7 separate regions of the Homo sapiens genome follow, and regions 1, 2, 3, 4, 5 and 7 are each linked to region 6. The links are contacts of gene promoters, found by promoter capture Hi-C in blood cells and fetal thymus (Javierre and others, 2016). All regions are on one chromosome and are shown on one strand. Each heading gives the region's core, a stretch centred on a gene start or on the middle of the fragment in contact. The rest is flanking DNA. Distances are from core to core; before and after follow the strand shown. Region 1 overlaps MAP6D1 (MAP6 domain containing 1). Region 2 overlaps PARL (presenilin associated rhomboid like). Region 3 overlaps PARL (presenilin associated rhomboid like). Region 4 overlaps ABCC5 (ATP binding cassette subfamily C member 5). Region 5 has its middle 14 kb from the start of MIR4448. Region 6 holds the start of CAMK2N2 (calcium/calmodulin dependent protein kinase II inhibitor 2). Region 7 overlaps ABCC5 (ATP binding cassette subfamily C member 5).

The links. Contacts are between HindIII fragments. The CHiCAGO score rates a contact against its expected background, and 5 or more counts as called.
Region 1: a fragment that was not itself captured here is called in contact with the fragment with the promoter of CAMK2N2 in region 6 in 1 of 17 cell types (M0 macrophages); the score reaches 6.4 in M0 macrophages.
Region 2: a fragment that was not itself captured here is called in contact with the fragment with the promoter of CAMK2N2 in region 6 in 4 of 17 cell types (M1 macrophages, erythroblasts, megakaryocytes and 1 more); the score reaches 6.6 in M1 macrophages.
Region 3: a fragment that was not itself captured here is called in contact with the fragment with the promoter of CAMK2N2 in region 6 in 1 of 17 cell types (endothelial precursors); the score reaches 5.3 in endothelial precursors.
Region 4: a contact is called between a fragment that was not itself captured here and the fragment with the promoter of CAMK2N2 in region 6, in 6 of 17 cell types (M1 macrophages, M0 macrophages, M2 macrophages and 3 more). The highest score is 13.0, in M1 macrophages.
Region 5: a contact is called between a fragment that was not itself captured here and the fragment with the promoter of CAMK2N2 in region 6, in 17 of 17 cell types (M1 macrophages, M2 macrophages, M0 macrophages and 14 more). The highest score is 27.4, in M1 macrophages.
Region 7: a fragment that was not itself captured here is called in contact with the fragment with the promoter of CAMK2N2 in region 6 in 5 of 17 cell types (M1 macrophages, M0 macrophages, M2 macrophages and 2 more); the score reaches 8.0 in M1 macrophages.

Annotation. Positions count from the first base shown.
Region 1 is chr3:183,813,133-183,816,799 of GRCh38, reverse strand. MAP6D1 (MAP6 domain containing 1) reads left to right here. Exons shown (of 3, transcript NM_024871.4): 3 at 1-878. Among named protein-coding and RNA genes, the nearest start is that of YEATS2-AS1, 4.5 kb to the right of the region's middle. The HindIII fragment of the contact is 3,273 bases long and covers 449-3,667 here.
Region 2 is chr3:183,832,824-183,836,799 of GRCh38, reverse strand. It overlaps PARL (presenilin associated rhomboid like), which reads left to right. Exons shown (of 10, transcript NM_018622.7): 8 at 2,975-3,076; 9 at 3,211-3,308. Among named protein-coding and RNA genes, the nearest start is that of MAP6D1, 9.2 kb to the right of the region's middle. The HindIII fragment of the contact is 651 bases long and covers 2,193-2,843 here.
Region 3 is chr3:183,857,375-183,861,076 of GRCh38, reverse strand. The region is part of intron 4 of PARL (presenilin associated rhomboid like); the gene reads left to right. Among named protein-coding and RNA genes, the nearest start is that of PARL, 26 kb to the left of the region's middle. The HindIII fragment of the contact is 1,571 bases long and covers 1,075-2,645 here.
Region 4 is chr3:183,918,701-183,922,665 of GRCh38, reverse strand. ABCC5 (ATP binding cassette subfamily C member 5) reads left to right here. Exons shown (of 30, transcript NM_005688.4): 30 at 1,265-2,732. The coding sequence ends at 1,366. Among named protein-coding and RNA genes, the nearest start is that of MIR4448, 34 kb to the right of the region's middle. The HindIII fragment of the contact is 1,722 bases long and covers 1,651-3,372 here.
Region 5 is chr3:183,899,116-183,902,838 of GRCh38, reverse strand. It overlaps the pseudogene CYP2AB1P. Among named protein-coding and RNA genes, the nearest start is that of MIR4448, 14 kb to the right of the region's middle. The HindIII fragment of the contact is 4,315 bases long and covers 195-3,723 here.
Region 6 is chr3:184,260,220-184,263,875 of GRCh38, reverse strand. CAMK2N2 (calcium/calmodulin dependent protein kinase II inhibitor 2) reads left to right here and starts at 2,323. Exons shown (of 2, transcript NM_033259.3): 1 at 2,323-2,759; 2 at 3,649-3,656. The coding sequence starts at 2,591. The region is part of intron 2 of EEF1AKMT4-ECE2 (EEF1AKMT4-ECE2 readthrough); the gene reads right to left. RefSeq lists enhancers at 469-1,231, 3,117-3,656. The HindIII fragment of the contact is 12,942 bases long and covers 1-3,656 here.
Region 7 is chr3:183,938,962-183,942,422 of GRCh38, reverse strand. The region is part of intron 25 of ABCC5 (ATP binding cassette subfamily C member 5); the gene reads left to right. Among named protein-coding and RNA genes, the nearest start is that of MIR4448, 54 kb to the right of the region's middle. The HindIII fragment of the contact is 7,094 bases long and covers 1-3,461 here.

The DNA of each region.
Region 1 (3,667 bases), core at 836-3,335, 450 kb after region 6:
AGTCACGGGCTTCCACTTCACAGACCTCCTTATGGCCAAGATGAGCCTCATGTTTTAACAAAACAGTTCTTGGGATTGAATGACTCACATTTACCTTGTGCTAGGTTCTAAAGATTGAATCCACATTTTGTTACTAATGATTTTCCCGCTAACATAAGGATGATGAGCAGGGCACTATCATACACACTGGCTGAGAACTGGAACTGTTTTTGGGAAGGTGGCATTTGTCTCATTCCCTGAAATACCTTAAAATGTCCTCTACACCAACCCTTCCGTCTACCCTGCTCACATGTACAGTGACGGGGAACTCACCACCTTTTGAAGAGGCAGTTCATTTTCTTTGCAAAGCTCTCTCCTAACTTCCTCCGTAAATTCCAGCCAGCATGGCCACATGGGTCACGCCTGGTGCCTTCACACGTTTGAGGGGTCTTCGTCTCTTTTTAAAGCTTAGAGGTACAAGCTCAGGACAGTCTTCAGTAAGGAAATTTGTGGATTTCCCTTTGGATCTTTCTTCCTCTCCAGCCCACAAGTGGCTCTAGTGAGACGAGCATTTAAGCTGCAGGTGGTGGCACTCGGGTCTCAGAGCCACCAGACGTGCAGGTGGGACAGTGGTTCCAGCTCCGACTGCCTGTCAGCGTCCCTCCCAGGTGCTAGCCCTGGCAGGCACAGCCCTCCCCTCATGCCAGCAAAGGAAATGCTCTTGATGAGAGGCTCGCTTTAAAGAAGCCCAAAGCGTGTGCTTATCCAAGGGGTTCAGCTATTCCTGACTTCACGGCTTGCATGTTTGATTTTTCTAAGAGAAAAGAGGCTGCCTGCTGGGTGTCTGTGGAAATGAGATTAAAAACTGTACAATCTCAGATTTTACTAAAATGCAAAAATGTAGTTTCAGTTTCTTAAATTATAAGCACGAGTCTTCTCACGCTTGTTTTCTCCAGTCTCTTGGTGCTAAGGACTTCAGTGTGGTGCAGCTGCCGCCACACCTCAGAGGCCTGTTGATGCTGAGCACTTCTTGCTGTGGGGTGCAGAGCACATGTGGTAGGTGCAGCCCACAGAACCCACCCGTCCCCTACCCTCACCCAGGCGCCTCTCTCTGAAGCTCCTCAGGCTCTAATCCCAGCTTCACTTGCTACCTGTGAGCAACTGGGGTTCCGTTTCTTCACTGAGAAGTGACGACGCTACCAGCTACACCTTGTGGCTTGCCAAGAGCATCCGTGTTTATGGGTGGGGTGCTCAGTACAGGAAATAACTGAGGCACAGGTGTTAGGATTATTCTTTCCTGCCTTAGTCCCCCCTCCTCACTTTCCCTGGGAGCCAGCTGTGTTCCCACCTGCAGCTCCCAGCATCCTCTAGCTTGATGCCGTGTGCTCCCAGCCCCTCACCCCCCCTGGCCAACGTCACCCTGCACAGCGCCCAGATGCTTGTTTGTTCTTTTCCTATAATGGGCTGGTCAGCTCTGCTGCAGCTCAGCCAGGACCAACCGGGCCTGCCCCTTCCTGGCAGTGCTGGTGGGGCAGCCGCAGTGGAGGCCTCACCACACCAGACAGGCCTGACTGCAAGACAAACAAACAGATGGTCAAGAGCCTCTGCAATGCACAGCAGACAGCTTTTCACAGACACCAACTCCAGTGTTGCTCTGAGGGTGCATCATCATCGAGGCAGGGTCTTGCTTTGTCACCCAGTGGTGTGAACACTGCTCACTGCATCCTCAACCTCCTGGGCTCAAGTGATCCTCCCGCCTCAGCCTCTCGAGTAGTTGGGACCACAGGGGCATGCCACCATGCCTGGCTTTTTTTTTTTTGGCTGTCACCCAGGCTGGAGTGCAGTGGTGCAATCTCGGCTCACTGCAACCTCTGCCTCCCACGTTCAAGCGATATTCTCCCACCTCAGCCTCCCGAGTAGCTGGGATTACAGGCGCCCACCACCATGCCCAGCTAATTTTTGTAGAGACGGGGCGTCATGTTGGCTGGGCTGGTCTCGAACTCCTGACCTCAGATGATCCTCCCATCTCAGCCTCCCAAAGTGCTGGGATTACAGGCGTTGAGCTATCACACCCGGCCATTTTTTATTTATTTTTGTACATTTTGTAGAAACAGGGTCTCCCTATGGTTGCCCAGGCTGGTCCTGAACTCCTGGGCTCAAGCAATCCTCCTGCCTCAGCCTCCACAAAGCACTGGGATTGCAGGTGTAAGCCACTGCACCCAGCCTGGCCTCTTTATGAGGAGATGTGGGTTATGCTGAAACTCCTTCCCACTCACTTAGGTCTAAATAATCAGGCCTAACATGTTCAGCAAGTGACCCAAGAAGCAACTGAGACAGACAAGTCTCAACCATGTGGTCCCAACTCATAGCTATCTATCAATCATCTCTCACACACATACATAATACGCATATAAGACTGAAAGAAAGGCACTGAGAGATGTTAGCAGTGATTATCTTTCAGAGGAGGAATTATGAGTAGTTTTTCAAACACATTTTTTATGCTTGCTAAAGTTTCTGTAAACATTTTTATAATAATTCTGTAAAGAAAAAGTTCTTAAAAATAAAAAGCAAGCCAGGCATGGTGGCTCATGTCTGTAATCCCAGCACTTTGGAAGGCCAAGGCAGGTGGATCACTTGAGGTCAGGAGTTTGAGACCAGCCTGGTCAACATGGTGAAACCCTATCTCTACTAAAAATACAAAAATTAGCCAGACGTGCTCACTTGAACCCAGGAGGCGGAGGTTGCAGTGAGCTGAGATCGTGCCACTGCACTCCAACCTGGGCGAGAGAGCAGACTCTTTTTTTTTTTTTTTTTTTTGAGACAATGGAGTCTTGTTCTTGTCACCCAGGCTGGATGGAGTGCAATGGCACGATCTCGGCTCACTGCAACCTCCGCCTCCCAGGTTCAAGCGATTCTCCTGCCTCAGCCTCCTGAGTAGCTAGGATTACAGGCACCTGCTACCACGCCTGGCTAATTTTTATATTTTTAGTATAGACGGGGTTTCACTATGTTGGCCACGATGGTCTCGATCTCCTGACTTTGTGATCTGCCTGCCTCGGCCTCCCAAAGTGCTGGGATTACAGGCATGAGCCACCGTGCCCGGCCCAGACTCTGTCTCTAAATAAATAAAAAGCAGTTCAACATGTTAGCAAATTCCAGACAAAAGAAAATGTTAACTTTTTAATTATTTCACAACCCAAGCTGCCACTGCGGGAGCTGCCTCAAGCAGCCACGGGCTGCACTATGACGCTCTGCAGGTGGAAAGTCCTAAAGATCCTTCCGCAAGTCGAGGGGGTTTGCAGGCATTTAGAACAAGGTCTCGCCTCTCTGTGCTCCATGGTACAGAACTCCAGGACTCAGGCCACGTTCCCAAAAGCAGCTTTTGAAAAAAGCTAGGCCCTGCAGCCCACCCCAGACAAATGGAAGAACCTCCCCTTTGAACAGGGTCAAGATGATGATGAAGCCCCAAAGCCAGTTCTGTTGGCCCCGTTCACACAGGACTCCTTCCATCAATAACTTGGAGTCCAAGTCACGTAAGGTACTGCCTGTGACACTGATCTGAGCCTGCTCTCGCTCCTGCCAAAACCTTGGCTGAGACAATGAACATTTATGAAGGCAAGCCTAGGCACACCCCTCTCAGCCATCAGACTCTTTGACTCTCCATTATGACTCTCAGCAAAGTCTGGTC
Region 2 (3,976 bases), core at 1,269-3,768, 430 kb after region 6:
CGCACTCCAGTTTGGGCAATAGCGAGACTCTGTCTCAAAAAATATATGTTTATGAAATAAGTAAAAAAAAATCAGATGTGCATATTGATTACAGGTATATAACCAGTACATAAAAATATTGATGGAGAACAAAAGACCTTCACCTCTTCCCATGGACCCACACCTCTTAGGTCTGTTGGATCAGGGTTCATGACTCACTGTACTTAAACTGTGTATGAATGTGAGCGTTTTCTGAGAAGAGAAGGGTTCATTTTCATTAAATTCTTCTTTCTGACTCGAAAAAGTGAAAAAAGTCTCTCTGCATGGGAGTAAGCCCAAATATTTGTCAAAAAACAAGTTGTGATTTATTCAGACATATAAATATTTAAATTTATATAAAAGCCACATCGAGAAAATTCTAGAAGGATGATGGAACTGTGTATGTAATAATTACAATAAGTTATAATCACAAAAAAACCAGCGTTCCATGGAATTGTACAGATAACGACAATTTTTTTTAACAGATGGAGAATAATCATCTATGGAATAGTAGTTTAGAAGAACTTCATAGAATTTTTTTTTTTTTTTTTTTTTTTTTTTTTTGAGATGGAGTTTCGTTCTTGTTGCCCAGGCTGGAGTGCAAAGGTGCGATCTCGGCTCGCTACAACCTCTGCCTCCCGGGTTCAAGCAATTCTCCTGCCTCAACCTCCTGAGTAGCTGGGATTACAGGCATGCACGACCATGCCCAGCTAATTTTGTATTTTTAGCAGAGACTGGGTTTCTTCATGTTGGTCAGGCTGGTCTCGAACTCCAGACCTCAGGTGATCTGCCCGCCTCAGCCTCCCAAAGTCCTGGGATTACAGGTGTAAGCGACTGTGCCTGGCAGAACTTCATAGAATTTTAATGCTCTTTCATATCAACTAATCAAATTATATTTGCTTCATTTTGGGGAAACGTGTAATTTTGATTTGTTTTGGGGTTTTTTTGAGATAAAGTGTCACTCTGTCGCCCAGGCTGGAGTACAGTGGCTCAATCTTGGCTCACCACAACCTCAGCCTTCCGAGTAGCTGGGACTACAGGCGCCCACCACCACGTCTGGCTAATTTTTGTGTTTTTAGTAGAGACGGGGTTTCACTATGTTGGCTAGGCTGGTCTTGAACTCCTGACCTCAGGTGATCCACCTGCCTCGGCCCCTCAGAGTGCTGGGATTACAGGCGTGAGCCACCGTGCCCGGCTACAATTATAGTCTCTTGCACAGAAGCCAGCTTGGTCAAAATTCAGGTCTTCTTGGGTCCTCCTTTTGAGGAGTGTTCATGCTGTCCTTCCATCTTGCAGTTACCCTGACTTCTAAGAATGCAACCCGAGCTTGTTTCCCTGTTGAGGCCACTTGGCAGTTATATGAGGGACTGGGGACATCTGAGATCTCTGGGACTCATAATAATTTTCTTTAAAGTTTTAGTAATTCCCCAAATGTAAGATAATCTTGTATTCTGAAGCAACCCGTCACATAGAAGACATTAAGAAAACATTGATTAAGAGAGGTAGATGCTATTTTCCAGAAACAACCGTTTTTATATGAAAAGGTAGGAACCTTTCTTTTTAATGATAGGGGCTTCTTTCAAAAGTTATTTTGCTCTTAGGTGTCTTTTTTTTTTTTTTAAACATCTCATTCATAAATAATTAAAAACTTATGGAAAGTTGCAGGAAATAGTACAGAGGACTCCCATAAAGTCTTTTTTGTTTGTTTGTTTTGTTTTGTTTTGAGACAGAGTCTCGCTGTTTTACCCAGGCTGGAGTGCAGTGGGACAATCTCGGCTCACTGCAACCTCTGCCTCCCGGGTTCAAGCAATTCTCGGGCCTTAGCATCCTAAGTAGGTGGGATTATAAGCATCCGCCACCACGCCCAGCTAATTTTTTTTTTTTTTTTTTTTTTTGTATTTTTAGTAGAGACGGGGTTTTACCACGTTGGTCAGGCTGGTCTCAAACTCCTGACCTCAGGTGATCCACCTGCCTCGGCCTCCAAAAGTGCTGGGATTATAGGCGAGAGCCACTGCACCCAGCCCCATGTAGTCTTTTTAAAAAGCAGGCAACTCAGGTTTACTAGTTAACATGCAAAAAACTGCACATATTTAAAGTTTGGTAAGCTTTGACATGTAGACACCCGTGAAACCATCACCACACTCAAGATCATGGACATATTCATCCCAAAAGCTTCCTAGTGGTCACTCCTTCCTGCCCCTCCTCTACCCCTGGCGACAACTTACCTACTTCTACTAAAGATAAATTAGTTTGCAAATGGAACCATACAGCATATACTAGTATTTGTTGTCCTGGCCTCATTTACTCTGTATAATTACTTTGAGACTCATCCATGTTCTGTGTATCAGTTTATTCCTTTATTATTTTTGAGACAGGGTCTTACTCTGTTGCCCAGGCAGGAGTGCAGTGGTGCAATCATAGCTCACTGTAACCTTGACCTCCTGGGCTTAAGGGATCCTCATGCCTCACACTGTGCTGGAATTACAGGCGTGAGCCACCACACTGGCAATGTTTTGTTTCTTTATGAAGATGAATAAAGATTTCACATGAATTTTTTAAGATGAAACATGCTTCATGCATGCAGGTTTCTTTGGGCGTATTCATGCCCACTCCCTCTGGTTGGAGCTTTGTCAGAGAAGTGTGAGCAGTTCTTTCCTAGGCCATAGGTGAAAGATGCGCATGACACGCTTAGCACTGTCCTTGCGGTTCATGAGGCACATACATCTTACTGCCCCGTAGTAAAAATTCAGTCTTTCCAAGCGATTACTGTGTGAAGGACATTTAGTTCCTTCACCTATTATTGGGGACATAAGTAACTGAAAGCTTTGAAGCTTTGTGCTCACCTAGAAATGTGCAGCATGTAAACTTTCTAGAAAATGTGCTGCTCTTTAGACCTTGTAGCCACTAAGCAGTTGCATATTGAGTTTCCCATTCTCCCTGCTGTGTTACTTTGCAGTCTGGTGCCATCATGACAGTCCTCGCAGCTGTCTGCACTAAGATCCCAGAAGGGAGGCTTGCCATTATTTTCCTTCCGATGTTCACGTTCACAGCAGGGAATGTAAGTATTTTTATGAAGTGCAGTGCTGGGGATAGTGGTGATGTTTTTATGTTGAGTGGGTTCTTGCCCTTAAGTTAGAAATGTCAGTGCTGGAGCAATCACAGTTGTGCCGCTTGTTTCTTGCTGCCTTTCAGGCCCTGAAAGCCATTATCGCCATGGATACAGCAGGAATGATCCTGGGATGGAAATTTTTTGATCATGCGGCACATCTTGGGGGAGCTCTTTTTGGAATGTAAGTTTGAGTGTAATTGATTGCTAAACTGCTTCCTTGGGTCATGCGCTCCTCCTACCCCAGCCTCACCCCTACCCCCCATCCCCATGGCAGAGACATTGAACTATGCAACGGAAGCAGAAGCAGGTGGGCTTGGGAGGGTGAGGAAACCTCAACGTGGCTTGCTTTGGGTTTACCCAGCATACCTGGCTCATTGTAGAGACAGTCTGTGCCTTTACCCTACGCTTAACCTTAAGTTGCCCCAACTGTTGGCCTGTTATTCCCAGCCCCCTCTTAGAAGACTGCAGCCTGGCCCCCAGTCTATGCTGACATCTTCTTTTTCCCCTTCAGACTTTCCTGCCCTCCTCTCCCCTGCCTGGCGTCCCACCCTGCTACCCTGACCTCTGTCTCGCCAGTGCTATTTAGACATGCTGAGTTGGCGGAGCCATTGCTCTGTATGACTGGAGTAGAGGCCGGTGACTGCAAACCAATGTGGACCACTTACTGAGTACCCGCTGTATGCAGGCACCAAGCTAGTTCCCTTATGTTATACTATTACTACTCCCATTTTACTGATGGGAAACTGAGGCTCAGACATCATCTTCCCCAGGCCAAACAGCTCTTCAATAGCAGAGCAGAGCTGTAAACCCACCTCTATAAGCCCTTTCCACCCCCACCACACCATATGG
Region 3 (3,702 bases), core at 611-3,110, 400 kb after region 6:
TGGGAGGCCGAGGCGGGCAGATCACCTGAGGTCAGGAGTCAGAGACCAGCCTGGCCAACACGGTGAAACCCCATCTCTACTAAAAATACAAAAAATTAGCTTAGGCGTGGTGGTGCACGCCTGTTAATCCCAGCTACTAGGGAGGCTGAAGCAGAATTGCTTGAACCTGGAAGGCTGAGGTTGCAGTGAGCTAAGATTGCGCCACTGCACTCCAGCCTGGACGACAGAGCGAGACTCTGTCTCAAAAAAAAAAAAAAAAAAAGTAACGAAATTAAGATTTCTTTAGGGTGGCAAGGTTTTGCCTTCACTATTTTCAAAGCATTTCACTATTAGTTTATACCTCACATTCTTTGAAGGTGGTCATGATTTTATGCCATTTAACATATGAAGAAGCCTAGCATCAGAGTTTAAAACCTTTTCTCATGCTGGTGAATACTTTCTTCAAAGAAGCTAGAGGTAATTAAAAATCAGAATTCTTTCCCCCTAGTCTTTTTCTTTTTTGAAATCAAATCAGCCATTTGGCATGAAGAGCGTAGCAGTAGAGAGAGATGCTTGTGATCTGTCTTGCAACTTGAATGTAAGCTGCTTTGAACAACATAAATGTGAATGGTCATGCTGCAGGTCTTAAATCTTTATTGTTAGATTATCCAAGTGACTTTAACCTCAGGAAATGCCATTTGAACTGTCTTGTGTCACCTCAGACTTTTCTTGTAGGAAATAATTATTCTAGTAATAGTGATTCTAGCTTTACAATGTCTGTAAGTGGTGCTTAATCAATTACCTATATATGAGAGTCTCAAGAATAAACTGTTTATTTAGTATGTCTTGTCTTCTTCCTGGGGTGCCAATTAGTCCAGCTTTCCTTGCTGAGCACTCCTGATTGCTTCTTGTAGACTGCAAAGTGAAGTTGGCTCAGCTTCTGGTTTTAATCAGTGATAGATTTATGGGGTGACAGGTCTACTCCGTCCCACTTTCTTTCTTTGGATTGGAGATGTTTTCCGAATGGGTTTTTTTTTTTTTCGTTTTATATTTTGAAAGAACTTGACAAGTTTGACCTAGAGAGTTTTTAAAGCTTTGTGAGACCAGTGTGCCTCTCTGCTTTGTAGTATTCATACCTAGACAATGGCAGCATGAAAGCTCTAGTCGGTTAAAGATTTCTCACTGCTACACCAAACACTTCATGTAAGTATTCCTTGCCATTGAATCTGTTGAGCTCTTGAATTTGGATGGAAAGATTTTGGATACGGTAAGTTCAGACAGTAAAGTGTTAATCCAAATATACATAGTTTCTGAGTTTCAGAGAATGAGGGGTATCTCAAATTTATCCATGTCTCTTTGGTTCCTAGGTATAGGTAAGAACAGTCAGATTGTAAGGCATACCCATAATTTATTTTATTGTTAAGGTGGCATCTGGTGGTGAGGTAAAAAACCCCTTTCTAGCTGGGTGCAGTGGCTCATGCCTGTAATCCCAGCACTTTGGGAGCACTTTTGGGAGGTGGATCACCTGAGGTCAGGAGTTGGAGACCAGCCTGGCCAACATGGTGAAACCCCATCTCTACTAAAAATACAAAATTAGCTGGACGTGGTGGTGCATGCCTATAATCCCAGCTACTTGGGAGGCTGAGGCAGGAGAATCGCTTGAACTTGGGAGGCAGAGGTTGCAGTGAGCCGAGATCATGCCATTGCCCTCCAGCCTGGGCAGTAGAGTGAGACTCTGTCTCAAAACAACAACAAAAACCTCCCCTTCTTACAGCTGATGCCAGGTTTGGAGTCTGTAGTTTTGTTTTTGTTTTTGTTTTGAGATGGAGTCTTGCTCTGTCACCCAGGCTGGAGTGCAGTGGCGTGATCTCTGCTCACGGGCAAGCTCTGCCTCCTGGGTTCACGCCATTCTCCTTCCTCAGCCTATAAGTGCCCGGCTAATTTTTTTGTATTTTTAGTAGAGACGGGGTTTCACCGCGTTAGCCAGGATGGTCTAGATCTTCTGACCTCGTGATCCACCGCCTCGGCCTCCCAAAGTGCTGGGATTACAGGCGTGAGCCACCGCGCCCGGCGAGTCTGTAGTTTTTGACTGTTCTGTCTCAATCTGTCTGTGCAAATCCCTTTTTAAAGCTATGCTAGGAAACTTGTTTTAATCCTTTTTTTTTGGTTTGTTTGGGGATTTTTTTTTTGGTCTTAATTTTTATTACACAGAAATAATCTCCCCAGGCTTCATATTGCTCTGAAAAAGTGTTTATAAGCCCACTAGGTATTTGTGGGGCAAGCGGGGAGTATAACGTGGCATTCTTCAAACTTAAATTTGTCATCCCTGGTGCTTTTATATTTCACCTAATTTTCTGTTCTATTGCCCTGATCTGTCAGCCTTTTAAGCCTCTCCTAGAGGTCCCCAGGCAACCCCCAGAGAGAATATTTTCTCCTCCCTTTCTAGCTTTCAGGGTTGTCTTTGAGGCACTTGCCAGGTTTTCCTGTTAGTTCAAGAGAATGCTGACTTTACTGTATTGAGATTCAGGTAAAGCCACAGGAAAAAATCAGCTAAATTATTATTTTTGATCAAGAAGGAGCAAGGACAGAAAAGGATAGGGAGAGAGATCGCAAGAAAACTGTGCCGTAGTTCCTCTACTAGTGTATTTTTTGTCAGCTCCAAAGCTTAGTCACTACTACTCTCCAGTCTTTGACCCCTTGCCCCAACTTCTAAAGTCTATTCTTTTTTCTTTGCTGTTCTGTTTCTGCCAGGCTTATTCTTTTTCATTTCAGTTCTCTCTCTCCTTGTACCTTTTCAAGGTTTTGAGCTGTCTTCCCAGACTAAGGCCTCCTTACCTATTCCTGATGTTGCTGGTAAGGCAATGTTTTCCTTGGTCTTATAGCCCATCTTTACCTTTTAATCAGAATCAGTCACTGTTTTTCTGTAACTCCTGACTTCCCAGTCTGCAAACAAGTTATTTTTGTAGAAGAATAGCAAAGTTAATCCTTGAGTGCCAACCACACTTCAAGTATCATGCTATGTGCTTTACATGCATTTCTATTATTATTAGTCATCATAAGAACCCTGTTATCCTCATTTCTCAGATGGGGCAAGGAACGGCCAAGTAACTGCGATCACACAGCTAGAACTGGGTGGATTCGGGAATCAAATCCACTTCATGTATCAAAGAATAGGGTTTTTATTATGTCCTTTTCACTTTTCTAGAATAGCAAACCACCATTAATTACCTTTCTGATAAACCACACTGCCTCCCCCTATCAAGTATCTGGGTGCTGATTCACAGCACAAATTGCAGCAAATTGTTCCAAAGTAGCAGCCTACCCCCAGGGAGGAAAGGGAGCCCTTTTTGACTGCCTAGACTAGATTTTGTCATTGTAAAATGAATAAATATGCATGGTAGCAGATGAAAATTGGAATAGAGGATACATAAAGTGAAAAATAAGTCTTTCTCTCACTCTGAACTTCCAGTTCTGCACTTTTCCTTTCCCATAATAACCATTGCATGTTTAGTTACTTGTGTGTTCTTCCAAAGCATCTATTTATATATAGGCATTTATATCTATCTGTGGTTTAACACAAAAATAGAAACATGCAGTACATACTCTTCTGCACCATGATTTTTTTTCACTTAATATTTTAAAGAACATTCTATATCAATACAAGTAGGTTTGTTACATTCTTTTTAATATTTTATTGAGGTATAATATACATAGAAGAATGTG
Region 4 (3,965 bases), core at 1,262-3,761, 340 kb after region 6:
TGCCACAGGAGGTGGGTTCTGCCAGCGTATCATTCAGGGTTCTGCTGCCACATGATTTTCCACGGCTACATAGAAGTCCATCATAGGAATGGCCACCTGACTAAGTCACTCCCTGACTTCCTTTTTCTCCCCTGACAACTAGACATTCTGAGCTCTTCCATTTCCCTCTATAAGGTTAGATCAGCTTGCATAACAAAATGGCATTTGTCTGGTGTGCCCTTGACTTGAGCTGCAACTTCTCTCCCCTGCAGTTTATTTATTTTATTTTGTTTATTTATTTATTTATTTTTTTGAGACGGAGTTTCGCTCTTGTTGCCCAGGCTGGGAGTGCAATAGCACGATCTCTGCTCACCACAACCTCCGCCTCCCGGGTTCCAGCGATTCTCCTGCCTCAGACTCCCCAGTAGCTGGGATTACAGGCATGCACCACCACACCCAGCTAATTTTTGTATTTTCACTAGAGACAGGGTTTCACCATGTTGGTCAGGCTGGTCTCGAACTCCTGACCTCAGGTGATCCGCCTGCCTCGACCTCCCAAAGTGCTGGGATTACAGGCATCAACCACCGCACCCAGCCTGTTGTTTTTTATTTATTTATTTATTTATTTATTTATTTATTTATTTATTTATTATTTTGAGGCAGAGTCTCGTTGTGTCGCCCAGCCTGGCATGCAGTGGTACAATCTCAGTTCACTGCAACCTCCACCTCCTGGGTTCAAGCGATTCTCCTGCCTCAGCCTCCCAAGTCACTGGGATTGTAGGCACCCGCCAACCATGCCCAGCTAATTTTTGTATATTTAGTAGAGACAGGGTTTCACCATGTTGGCCAGGCTGGTCTTGAACTCCTCACCTCAGGCAGTCTGCCCACCTCAGCCTCCCAAAGTGTTGAGATTACAGGCGTGAGCCACCAGCCTCCTGCAGTTTATAGACCTGGTTGGTTGGTTCCTTCACTCCCAAGGCTGAAGGAATTTGGATTTATGTGAAGGAGGTCTGGAAGTCGTTTTCTTTTTTTTTTTTTGCTATGATACTACTTTATTAGGCAAAACCACATACTACAAAAATGCTGGAAGTCATTTTCTCTGTCCTTTCCCTTACTCCCTGGATAGTTGAAAATAAAAAAATAAGGGGGGAGGTGCACGCAGGGCTAGTTGAATTGTCCCCAGATTCTACCCTCAGAGGGCACTGGCACTTACTGAGCCGTGGATCCTCTGAATCACCCTGCATGACCCAGAGCTGTGTCCTGACGGCGTCTCCTTCTTTTGCAGGTGGTGGAGTTTGACACCCCATCGGTCCTTCTGTCCAACGACAGTTCCCGATTCTATGCCATGTTTGCTGCTGCAGAGAACAAGGTCGCTGTCAAGGGCTGACTCCTCCCTGTTGACGAAGTCTCTTTTCTTTAGAGCATTGCCATTCCCTGCCTGGGGCGGGCCCCTCATCGCGTCCTCCTACCGAAACCTTGCCTTTCTCGATTTTATCTTTCGCACAGCAGTTCCGGATTGGCTTGTGTGTTTCACTTTTAGGGAGAGTCATATTTTGATTATTGTATTTATTCCATATTCATGTAAACAAAATTTAGTTTTTGTTCTTAATTGCACTCTAAAAGGTTCAGGGAACCGTTATTATAATTGTATCAGAGGCCTATAATGAAGCTTTATACGTGTAGCTATATCTATATATAATTCTGTACATAGCCTATATTTACAGTGAAAATGTAAGCTGTTTATTTTATATTAAAATAAGCACTGTGCTAATAACAGTGCATATTCCTTTCTATCATTTTTGTACAGTTTGCTGTACTAGAGATCTGGTTTTGCTATTAGACTGTAGGAAGAGTAGCATTTCATTCTTCTCTAGCTGGTGGTTTCACGGTGCCAGGTTTTCTGGGTGTCCAAAGGAAGACGTGTGGCAATAGTGGGCCCTCCGACAGCCCCCTCTGCCGCCTCCCCACGGCCGCTCCAGGGGTGGCTGGAGACGGGTGGGCGGCTGGAGACCATGCAGAGCGCCGTGAGTTCTCAGGGCTCCTGCCTTCTGTCCTGGTGTCACTTACTGTTTCTGTCAGGAGAGCAGCGGGGCGAAGCCCAGGCCCCTTTTCACTCCCTCCATCAAGAATGGGGATCACAGAGACATTCCTCCGAGCCGGGGAGTTTCTTTCCTGCCTTCTTCTTTTTGCTGTTGTTTCTAAACAAGAATCAGTCTATCCACAGAGAGTCCCACTGCCTCAGGTTCCTATGGCTGGCCACTGCACAGAGCTCTCCAGCTCCAAGACCTGTTGGTTCCAAGCCCTGGAGCCAACTGCTGCTTTTTGAGGTGGCACTTTTTCATTTGCCTATTCCCACACCTCCACAGTTCAGTGGCAGGGCTCAGGATTTCGTGGGTCTGTTTTCCTTTCTCACCGCAGTCGTCGCACAGTCTCTCTCTCTCTCTCCCCTCAAAGTCTGCAACTTTAAGCAGCTCTTGCTAATCAGTGTCTCACACTGGCGTAGAAGTTTTTGTACTGTAAAGAGACCTACCTCAGGTTGCTGGTTGCTGTGTGGTTTGGTGTGTTCCCGCAAACCCCCTTTGTGCTGTGGGGCTGGTAGCTCAGGTGGGCGTGGTCACTGCTGTCATCAATTGAATGGTCAGCGTTGCATGTCGTGACCAACTAGACATTCTGTCGCCTTAGCATGTTTGCTGAACACCTTGTGGAAGCAAAAATCTGAAAATGTGAATAAAATTATTTTGGATTTTGTAAAACTCTTCGTGTATCAAACAATTCTCTGGGAAGGGAGTGAGATATCCCTGAATGGCTTTGGGACCTGCATATCCAGCAATGGAGTTGCATCTGGGAAGGACTGGTAGCAAAGCTGGTTGGTTGCAAGGGCCATGGGGCCCTGAACACCTGGAATCATCTCTGTGGGCCTTAGTCCCGCTGCCTGTGTTCCTGGACATGGTCCCCAAATAAAGCTCCTTGGCTGCCCATAAGAGGGTGGGGAGTGGAAAGGTGAGTGGTTGTGGTGAGGTGGGTGGTCGTGGTGAGATGTATTTAAAATGAATAGTTTATCGAGGATTCTTAGCAATTCAAACAATATAATTACCCTTTCAGCCAATTCATTCAGATTCACCCATTGAAAATTAGTAACCCCGTCTCTACTAAAAATACAAAAATTAGCCTGGTGTGGTGGCAGGCACCTGTAGTCCCAGCTACTCAGGAGGCTGAGGCAGGAGAATCACTTGAACTCGGAGGTGGAGGTTGCGGTGAGCTGAGATCGTGCCATTGCACACCAGCCTGGGCGACAGAGTGAGACTCCGTCTCAAAAAAAAAAAAAAAAAAAAAGCAAAGGGTACTCATTCTAAAGTTTCTGACTATATTGTGTTGAATGCAGCCAAGAAAGCTTTTAAACTGGTATTAGTTTGCTGGCCATCAGTAGAAATTATACTAATTTTTCTAAAGTACCTGTGCTGTCGTGAGAACCCAGGAGCTTGACTCTAAAGTTAAAACTTTAGTTCCTAGAGTGTCACATTTCAAGCGCTCAGTAGCTGTATGCGACCTGTACAACATAGTAATGTACAGTGCAGATATAGGACGTGTCGATCATTGCAGGAAGTTCTGTTGGGCAGCTCCAATCTAAACGGTAACCACTTTTACTGAGGCACTAGATTTATCTTCCAAGAAGGTAACAAGGTCAGCAGAACGAGACCCTTCAAACTGCTGGGATTACAGGCATGAGTCACTGTGCCCAGCCTAAATTGGATTTTTAAAAGCAATTTCCATTTTGCCATTTTGTGCTTTCCCAGCTCATAATTCTCTGTTGCCAAGTAGAGTAGGCTAACAGGTGTAAGAAACAAGCCCAGACTTTCAGCAGTTTACCACAGTAACCAAACTCCTGTAGCAAAGCAGTGTGGTCTGTGGAGGGGTGGAATGAAGGTTCTGCCCGTGCGTTCAGGAACCCAGTCTCCCTCCCTCCTGGTCACCCTGCAAACCTCTAG
Region 5 (3,723 bases), core at 1,103-3,602, 360 kb after region 6:
GCAAGGTTAAGAAAACAAGTGCCAAATAAGGAGAGAGGAAGAAAGTTATAAAAATAAGTCAAATCAAGAACAGTTGCCACATATGTACATAAAACTCGAGTCTGAATTTCATTGGAGTGAAGGGAAAAAAGGAAATCTCGATTAATTATGAGTTATTATGTAATAAAAGGAAGCATGCCTGTATCAGGAAAGCTTTGGCTTATCACATGCCTGTAAGTTATGACAAGGATCATCATTCACAATATTCTTTTGTGGGCCAGTGGACCATGTAGTGGCAGTGATTTAAGCAGGAGTTTTTAAAAGATGCAGAAATATTCTTCAAGATGGCAGCTGCTTCTTATCTCAATTCCTTTTAAGAGATAAAATTCCTTTCATTCCTACAGTCAGCCAAAATAACACAGTTGAAGTTTATATAAATAATTATTTATTTTTAACCTCTATTCTTTTTTTTTTTTGAGATGGAGTCTTGCTCTGTCACCTAGGCTGGAGTGCAGTGGCTCAATCTTGGCTCACTGCAGCCTCTGCCTCCCAGGTTCAAGCTATTCTGCCTCAGTCTCCCGAGTAGCTGGGATGACAGGTGTGTGCCACCATGCCCGGCTAATTTTTGTATTTTTTAGTAGAGATAGGGTTTCACCATGTTGGCCAGGCTCGTCTAGAACTCCTGACCTCAAGTGATCTGCCTGCCTCAGCCTCCCAAAGTGCTGGGATTACAGGCATGAGCCACCGCGTCCGGCCAATATTTATTTATTTTTGAGACAGAGTCTTGCTCTGTCACCCAGGCTAGAGTGCATTGGCACGATCACGGCTCACCACAGCCTCTATCTCCCAGCTCAATCGATCTTCCCACCTCACCCTCCCGAGTAGCTAGGACTACAGGCATGAGCCCCCATGCCTGGCTAATTTTCGTTGTTTTTGTTGTTGTTGTTGCTTTGTTTTTTTGCAGAGATGCAGTTTCACCATGTTGCCCAGGTTGGTCTCGAGCATAGTTGAAGATGATAGCTCTCTGGTGATCCAGCTTGAGATAGCTTTCCGAGCAGATTTTTGACGTGAGCTGGACAATAACATGAGGACACCTGCTCTTTGCCCAGGCTTGCTGTGTGCTGAGGGCTTTGTGCCCACGGTGTCATTCGGTACAATGGTGCTCTGTATTGTTGACGGAGCCTTGCAGATCCTAGATGACAGATGTTGAATTACTTACCTATCTTACTGTGTAACAAATTACCCCAAAACTTAGTGGCTTAGAACAACAGCATTTATCATTTCACAGTTTCTGAGGGTTAGGAAAATGGGTGTGGCTCAGCTGGATGCCTCTGACTCAAGGTCTCTCATGAGGTTACCATCAAGTTGTTGTTGGGGCTACAGTGTCACCTGAAGACTCCCCTAGGGGAGGCTCCACTTCAAGCTCACTTACATGGAGGTCTTCAGGACCCGGTTGCTCATGAACTGTTGGCTGGAGACCTTCAGTTCCTTGACACATGGGCCTCTGCATAGGGTAGCTCAAAACATGGCAGCTGAACCCCATCAGAGAGAGCAAGCAAGAGGGCACCCAAAATAGAAGCAATGGTCTTTTTGTAACCTAATCTTAGATGTGATATCCCATTGCTTTTGCCATATTCTTTTTTTTTGAGACAGAATCTCGCTCTGTCACCCCAGGCTGGAGTGCAGTGGTGCAATCTCAGCTCAGTGCAGCCTCTGCCTCCTGGGCTCAAGCAATTCTCCTGCCTCAGCCTCCCGAGTAGCTGTGATTACAGGCATGTGCCACCATGCCTGGCTAATTTTTGTATATTTTAGTAGAGATGGAGTTTACCATGTTGGCCAGGCTGGTCTTGAACTCCTGACCTCGAGTGATTGGCCTGCCTCAGCCTACCAAGGTGCTGGGATTACGGGTGTGAGCCACCGCACCCGGCCGCTTTTGCCATATTCTATTTGTTGGGTTTGTTGTTGTTGTTGTTGTTGGTTTGAGACAGTGTCTCCCTCTGTTGCCTGGGTTGGAGTGAAGGGACACAATAATAGCTCACTGCAGCCTCAACCTCCCAGGCTTGGGTGATCCTCCCACCTCAGCTGCCTGAGTAGCTGGAACTACAGGCACCACATTGTGCCACCACAATGGGCTAATTTTTAAATTTTTGGTAGAGATGGGGTTTCACCATGTTGCCTAGGTTGGTCTCAAATTCCTGGGCTCAAGTGATCCTCCCACCTTGGCCTTCCAGAGTGCTGGGATTCCATGCATGAGCCACTGCGTCTGGCCCATTTTCTATTTGTTAGAAGTGAGTTACTAAATCCATCCTATCCTCAAGGGGAGGGGATTACACAAAGGTGTGTATCCTGGGAGTCAAGGCTAACTGGGGTAACTATCGGGGAATCTGTCCCGATAGTCACGTAGGTTCTTTTCTGTTTTTCCTAAGCGTCGGCCAGCTTGAGAAATAAAGGGACGAGTACAAAAGAGAGAAATTTTAAAGCTGGGCGTCTGGGGGAGACATCACGTGTCGGTGGGTTCCGTGATGCCCCACAAGCCGCAAAAACCAGCAAGTTTTTATTAGGGATTTTCAAAAGGGGAGGGAATGTGCAAATAGGTGTGGGTCACAGACATCAAGTACTTTACAAGGTAATGGAATATCACAAGGCAAGTGGAGGCAGGGCAAGATCACAGGACCACAGGACTGGGGCAAAATTAAAATTGCTAATGAAGTTTCGGGCACCATGGTCATTGATAACATCTTATCAGGAGACAGGGTTTTGAGAGCAACTGGTCTGACCAAAAATTTATTAGGCGGGAATTTCCTCTTCCTAATAAGCCTGGGAGTGCTATGGGAGACTGGGGTCTATTTCACCCCTATAGCCTCGACCATAAGAGACAGGCACACCTAGGGGGGCCGTTTATAGGCCTATACCCCCAGGCGCGTATTCTCTTTCCCAGGGATCTTCCTTGCTGAGAAAAAGAATTCAGTGATATTTCTCCCATTTGCTTTTGAAAGAAGAGAAATATGGCTCTGTTCCACCCGGCTCATCGGTGGTCAGAGTTTAAGGTTATCTCTCGTATTCCCTGAACAATTGCTGTTATCCTGTTCTTTTTTCAAGGTGCCCAGATTTCATATCATTTAAACAGACATGCTCTACAATTTGTGCAGTTAATGCAATTATCACAAGGTTCTGAGGCAACATACATCCTCCTCAGCTGACAGGATTAAGAGATTAAAGTAAAGACAGGCATAGGAAATCACAAGGGTATTGACTGGGGAAGTGATAAGTGTCCATGAAATCTTTACAATTTATGTTTAGAGATTGCAGTAAAGACAGGCATAAGAAATTATAAAAGTATTAATTTGGGGAACTAATAAATGTCCGTGAAATCTTCACAATCCAGGTTCTTCTGCCATGGCTTCAGCCAGTCCCTCCGTTCGGGGTCCCTGACTTCCCGCAACAGGTAACATACCAACATGTGTAGGTGGTGAGGTTGCCATTTTAATGAAAATGAAACAGAGCGACTCATCTTGGTGCCCTGGTGCAGGGTGATGCCTCTGTACATAGAGGTGGTGGCGGGAGCCCTGAGACTTTCCTCGGAAAGGAGCTTTGGCTCTGCCCCGAGTACTGCCCTGGAGTACAGTGGTGTGATCTCAGCTCACTGCAGCCTCCACCTCCGGGGCTCAAGCAATTCTCCCACCTCATCCTCCCAAGTAGCTGGTATTACAGGCACGTGCCACCACGTCCAGCTAATTTTTATTA
Region 6 (3,656 bases), core at 1,074-3,573:
CTACTCGGGAGGCTGAGGCAGGAGAATCGCTTGAACCTGGGAGGTAGAGGTTATGGTGAGCCAAGATCGCGCCATTGCACTCCAGCCTGGGCAACGGAGCAAGACTCCGTGTCAAAAAAAAAAAAAAAAAAAAAGATGTTATGTGATTTTCTTAATTTTCCTAAAATTTTTTTCCTTCCTTCCTTCCTTTCTCTCTCTCTCTCTCTCTCTCTCTCTCTCTCTCTCTCTCTCTCTCTCTTTCTTTTATTGAGACGGAGTCTCGCCTCGCTTTGTCACCCAGGCTGGAGTGCAATGGCCCAATGTCCGCCAACTGCCACCTTTGCCACCCTAGGTCAAGCGGTTCTTGTGCCTCAGCCTCCCAAGTAGCTGGGACTGCAGGTGTGTGCCACACCTGGCTAATTTTTTTTGTATTTTTAGTAGAGACAGGGTTTTGCCATGTTGATCAGGCTGGTCTCAAACTCCTGACCTCAGGTGATCCACCCACCTCGGCCTCCCAAAGTGCTGGTATTGCAGGCGTGAGCCACTGAGCCCGGCCTCCTAAAATGTTTTAAGTACAAACGAATTAATTTTTTAAAACCATGATTATGGGTCCTTCAGTTCAAGGTCACTGAGAAAGTGGGAGTCAGGATTGGAACCCATTACTGGACAACTTCCAGTGTATGTGGAATTTTCTGGACTCTCTTCCAGTGACCCCAGTCTTCCGCCTTTATTGTCCTTCCAGTTTCAGGGCTCCTCTCACTCCAGGCTGGGCCTCCACCTCCAGCTGTGGCCCTCATCCCGGAGACTAGGACAGAGCAGAGGAGGGCTTCATAGTGATGGGCCCCCAGGCCTGGGCCCTTGAGTGAGGCTGGCATCAAGGTATCCTGTGGCATACCGCCCCCCCCATCCAGTTCCCTGGGCAGCCACCATTGCGTTTGTCCCTGTGTCTCCGGTATTAACACCTGGCGAGAAAGTGTTGGAAGGAGACCCACTACAAGGCAGCCTCACCAGCTGTGTGATTTGGTAATTTGGCCAGATTAAGGAAGGAAAGCGCGTTCGCCTGGAGTGTGGAATGAACGTACAGGGTGATCATTACCGTTTTCAGCGCTGCCGTCACTGTCGCCGCATGTGAGACACCCCCTCCTCCCCAAGGCCAGTGATTGCGCCAGAGCTCCTGCGCGCTGGCAAGCAGGTGACGCCGCGGGTGACGGCCAGCCAGGGCGGGGGTTGTGGGGGCGGGAGGCAAGGGGAGAAGAGGGCATGTTCCCATCGGTGAGGCGAGAACTCACCCGTGGTCCAAAGCAACGAGGGCGGGGGGCACCCTCCATCTCTACCGCACTCCCTCGGGGCACACACTGGCGCGCTCCGCGTCCTCAGGTGCTCCGAGCTTCCCCGCGTCACCCGCAGCCCAGGGCGCCCCCCGCGACGCCGCCATTCATTCCTCCTACACTGCGAGCGCACCACTCCAGAGCCGCGGGGGGCTACAGCCACCGGACTAGGGCTGGGGGTGTCTGCCCTGGTGCGCGCGCGTCGGCCCAGTTTCTATAGACCCCTCCTAGGAGAGACTGAAATACCCAGATTCAGGAGACGGAGACACTGGCACAGAGATACAGGAGTCAAGAATGGAGATAGATAGAGAAAGGCAGACACTTAAGGGACAGGCATAGACAAAGGCCATAACACAGCGAAAGAGATACGGGGCACAGAGACAGAGAGATACAGACACTTAGAGATGGACTGACACACACAAAGGCGGAGACAGAGACACAGACCGGCACTCAGAGGCGCACGGACCCTGACGATCTACTTAAGACCAGCAGAGCAACTAGTACAAGAGCGCGTCAGCGGCAAGGGCACCATCCCACTGGCCCGAGCTCTTCCCGCGCTGTGGGTTCGTGCCTTCCCCAGTCACCCTGTACCCGAGTCTCCTCCCCGCGCATTTCCCGCTCCCCGCTTTCCATTGCCAGCCCTGCGGCCGCCTTCCCGCCCCAACGCGCCCGGCCAGCTTTTGCCCTCCTGCTCCCAGTCCCCCTTGCACGCCTCTCCCAGCCTAGGGGTCAGACCCTCCTCCAAGCTCCTCCAGTACCAGGCTCGATCCCACCCCCCTTCGGTCCCGCCCCTCCCCGCGAGGTCCCGGCCGGGTTGGCTGGTACTATTCCCCAAGACCCACGTGCTGGCCATTCCCCGCCACAGTGCGGGAACCTCCCACTCCAGCTGCCTCTGTTCCCGGGGTAGCTGGGCGCGCTCCTGCCCCCGGCCCCGCCTCTTTCCCCTGGCCAGTGCCCGCCCCGCCTCCACCGCGCCCCGCCCGCCGTGCTCTGCCGCAGTCGGGCGCTCATCGTCATTCCGCTCTTGCCGCCGCCGCCGCCACCCCCGCCCCCCGCCCCCGCCCCCGCCCGGTCCCCGCCACCGCCGCCGCCGCCGCCTGCCCAGCGGCCCGGGAGGCGGAGGCGCGGGGGAGGAGGCCCCGCTTGGCTCCTCAGCCCCGGATGCTGCATGACTTCATCCTTCCGCCGGCTCCCCTGCTGAGGTAGGGCCGGTCCGGCAGCAAGCCCGCCGCCCGCGCCCCGCCGCAGTCCCGCTCCCGCCCCGCGCCCACCCCGCGCCCGCCATGTCCGAGATCCTGCCCTACAGCGAAGACAAGATGGGCCGCTTCGGCGCAGACCCCGAGGGCTCCGACCTCTCCTTCAGCTGCCGCCTGCAGGACACCAACTCCTTCTTCGCGGGCAACCAGGCCAAGCGACCCCCCAAGCTGGGCCAGATCGGCCGAGCCAAGCGAGGTACGCGGCCCGGGCCCGGAGTCGCCGCCTGACCCAGAAACCCTCCGCCGGGCGCCCCCCGGCTGCCGTTCCCCGCCGAGTGCCCGCAGCTCTTGCCGCAGACCAGCGCACCAGCCGCTCTCCAGCCCGGGCTGGAGGGGGGGGTCCCCGCTGCAGTGTGTGTCCCCCTCTTCCCTTCTCCCGGGAACACGGTGCCCCGGATTCGATGCTCGCCACCTCTGGAAGCAGAGCCCTGGCACCCGGGCGAGGGGGAGGGGCCGGTCGGGGCATTTGGGGCTGCACGGAAGTGGGAGCACGGGGTAACGGGCTGATTCTTTGGGATCAAATACTGAGTCGGTGGACAATACGAAGAACCTTCGGGTCGAGAGGGACGTCTAACAAGAGAGGGCAGGAGGCCGGGGGTCCGCTTGTCTTGGTTGTTTGCATGGGGAGGGGAGCTCTGTTGGTGCCAGGATCGGAAGAGGGGTTCCAGCGGCGAGAGGGCTCAGGTTGAGGAGAGGGCTGGACCAGCTGGATACTCGGTTTGAGCCCCATTTGAGCAGGGGGATCTGTTGAAGTGCGGGTTGAAGAGGGGGATTCCGTGAGCAAGAGGTTTCTGATCAACTCAGAGGGAGGAAGGCTCAGGTGGCAGGAGGGCTCGCACTGGGAGGGAGAATAGCTGGAGCCTTTGGAAGAGGGGCGTTCCGCCATCGGGAGGGGAGGGGGTCTAGGCTTGGCGGCGGGTTGGGTCTCCAGAAGAGTTCGGACGGGGAGGACACCGCGGCACAGGGTTCCGAGGGGCGTCGCTGGGCCACGGGCAGTAGCTGCGCGGGAAGCTAGGACGCGGGGCTCATTCTCATCGCCGCCGCCCCCCGAGGCCGCGCGGCTGACGCGCTTTCTCCCTGCGCAGTGGTGATC
Region 7 (3,461 bases), core at 729-3,228, 320 kb after region 6:
TGTTAGGCTTCCTCTAGTAATATGTAGGTTTACAAAAATGAGGTCATTGACACATGCTGTTTCATGGCCTTCTTTTAAAACTATCAGTAGGCTGGGCGCAGTGGCTCATGCCTGTAATCCCAGCACTTTGGGAGGGCGAGGCGGGTGGATCACCTGAGGAGTTCAACACCAGCCAGAACAACATGGTGAAACCCCGTCTCTACTAAAAGTCCAAAATTAGCCAGGTGTGGTGGCACATGCTTGTAATCCCAGCTACTTGGGAGGCTGAGGCAGGAGAATGGCGTGAACCTGGGAGGCGGAGGTTGCAGTGAGCCAAGATCACGCCACTACACTCCAACCTGGGTGACAGAGCGAGACTCCGTCTCAAAAAAAAAAGAAAAGAAATGCGTAACTGTAGATCCTTTAGATTTCTAGGGTCAGGACTTGAGTAATTTACTTCTTTTTTTTTTTGAGACAAAGTCTCACTCTGTTGCCAGGCTGGAGTGCAGTAGCACGATCTCAGCTCACTGTAACCTCCACCTCCCAGGTTCAAGCGATTCTCCTGCCTCAGCCTCTCACGTAGCTGGGACTACAGGGGCGCCAGCTAATTTTTTTGTATTTTTAGTAGAGACAGGGTTTCACCATGTTGGCCAGGACGGTCTCGATTTCCTGACCTCATGATCCACCCGCCTCAGCCTCTGAAAGTGCTGGGATTACAGGTGTGAGCCATCGCACCCGGCCCCTTTTTTCTCACTTTCGTTCCTGAATTGCATTCCAAAGACTGAACTTGTCTTCTTTTACTGTCCTTTTTATCCTTGTATAAGAGGTATCTTTGATTCAGTTTTCATTAGTTTTCTAGGCTCCATGCTTCTTTGGCATCAAAACTCTTCTAGCTTTTTTCCTTGCCATTAAAAAAAAAAAAACCTTTTGTCTTTTCTGGCCAATTGATTTTAAAGAACTTTCTAAGGAAGAAAAGGAAAAAGCCATTTCCTGCTTTCTGTTTGAGGGAATTACTTCACGTCAAAACAAGACATTGCTCCAGGTCTTTCATGCTGGAAGGGAATCTTTAGCCAAGCAGGGTGACTCTCCCCAAGCCTTTTTACTGTTCTCTCCCTTGAGCCCATCTGCTGCATTCGTCCCCAGGGGTACACTGCTCCCCTGAAAGCTGACTGATGTCCTTTGTTATGATTTCCCTTTAACACAGGTGAGATAGGCCAAAACAAGCACCACAACTTCATTAAACAGTAGTTAGTGACAGAAGAGAAACAAGAAAAAGAACATAGTGGCCAGGTGCAGTGGCTCACGCCTGTAATCCCAGCACTCTGGGAGGCCCAGGCTGGTGGATCACCTGACGTCAGGAGTTCAAGACCAGCCTGGCCAACATGGTGAAACCTCATCTCTACTAAAAATACAGAAAGTTAGCTGGGCGTGGTGGTGGATGCCTGTAATTCCAGCTACTCGGGAGGCTGAAGCAGGAGAATCTCTTGAACCCAGGAGGCGGAGGTTGCAGTGAGCTGAGATTGCGCTATTGCCCTCCAGCCTGAGCAACAAGAGCGAAACTCCATCTCAAATAATAATAATAATAATAATAATAACCTGATTTACACTCCGGTTCTAATAGGGCTTCTTCCAAGTTTCACGGGTAACTTGGAAACTCTCCTGTGGTCATGTCAGTCAAGGACACCATCTTGAGGACTTCACTGCCTTTCTTACCAGCACATTCCATCAGTGCAAAGGTAGTCAGATTCAGAGGACTCTAAAGTCTTCCAGTCCAGGTGGTCCAAACCTAGGCACCTTTTGTTAAACTGGAACAACTTGACCCATTGTTTCGGGCACCATTCCTTCCTTAGCTTAGATCTTAAAGCCCTGCCTCGGCCCAGAGGGAATGTCTCCTCCCCTCCTATCTGGGAAAGGGGCCAGTAACTGAGTCCCCCAACCCTGAACAGAGTCATTCATTTTTTTTTTTTTTTTTTTTTTTTTTCCTGAGACAGAGTCTCAGTCTGTTGCCCAGGCTAGAGTGCAGTGGTGCAATCTCGGCTCTGGAGTAGCTGGGATTACAGGCACATGCCACCATGCCCAGCTAATTTTTTTTTTTTTTTGTATTTTTTAGTAGAGACAGGGTTTTGCCATGTTTGCCAGGCTGGTCTCAAACTCCTGGCCTCAAGTAATCCACCCACCTTGGCCTCCCAAAGTGCTGGGATTACAGGTGTGAACCGCTGCGCCCACCGGCCTGGAGTCACTCATTTCTAGGAGGAGAACTATCCTGCTAGACGGACCAGGTTTCCTAACTCGTTTCTGGTAGAAGGATGTGAGGATTGTTGCATTAGGAAGATGGGTCCTAATACAGCTTTTTCCAAGTTTCCTGGGCGTTACTTCTTCCAAGTCTTATGGGTGTTTTTCAGGTTCCCATTAGGCTGTTAGACAGAGGTATGCCCAGGGGGTAGATCCCGACAGTGGGGTCGTGGCTGTAGACACTGGGGCAAGGCAGGCTGTTTGCGCCCTCCATGAGTGCTGAAGAGACAGCATCGTGGTGATCTCGATGAGGCCCTCACAAGAGGTCTTTCATGACATGGTGGCACGAGAAAGGTAGGAGGGTCAAGAACCAGGCGTACAGCCAAGGAAAAGTGATTCAACAGCTAAAACCCTGTAGTTCTAAATCTAAACCATGGAACCAAGTTGCAGAAAGGTAGACAGGACTATGGCAAACTTCTTTTCTTTTTGGCTCTGTAGAGAGAGCACCTTTTAAATGTTTATATCCTTTGACACAGTAATTTCAGTTCTAAGATTCTTTCCCAAGGAAATTGTCTGAGGTGGCAGTAAAGTTTCAGCACTAAGATAATAGGACATAACATTATTATAAGTTTTACATAAACTAAATGTTGACCCTTAGAGGGCTGGCTGAACAAGAATACATGCACATGATGGAATGCAACCACTAAAATTTTATCTTGAAAATTTTTTTAAAAGATGGTTGACTGAGTGTTATACAATGCTTTTGTTTTGTTTTGTTTGAAACAGAGTCTCGTTCTGTCGCCCAGGCTGGAGTGCAATGATACGATCTTGGCTCACTGCAACCTCCGCCTCCCAGGTTCAAGTGATTCTCCTGCCTTAGCTTCCCAAGTACCTGGGATTACAGGCACTCGCCATCTTGCCCAGCTAATTTTTGTATTTATAGTAGAGACAGGGTTTCACCATGTTGGCCAGGTTGGTCTCGAACTCCTGACCTCAGGTGATCTGCCCGCCTCAGCCTCCCAAAGTGCTGGGATTACAGGCATGAGCCACCGTGCCCGGCCAATGCAGTGTTAAGTGAAAAAAGCAATTACAATATTGCATTTCTGATATGATCTCAACTCTGAGGAAAGACCGAAAGGAAGTGTGCCTAAAATGATAGAAGTGAGATTATGGGAGATTGATGATGTCATCTCGTATTACTTATGTAAACTTTTCAAATGAAGATTTGGTTAACCTGTTCTGCTGATTAC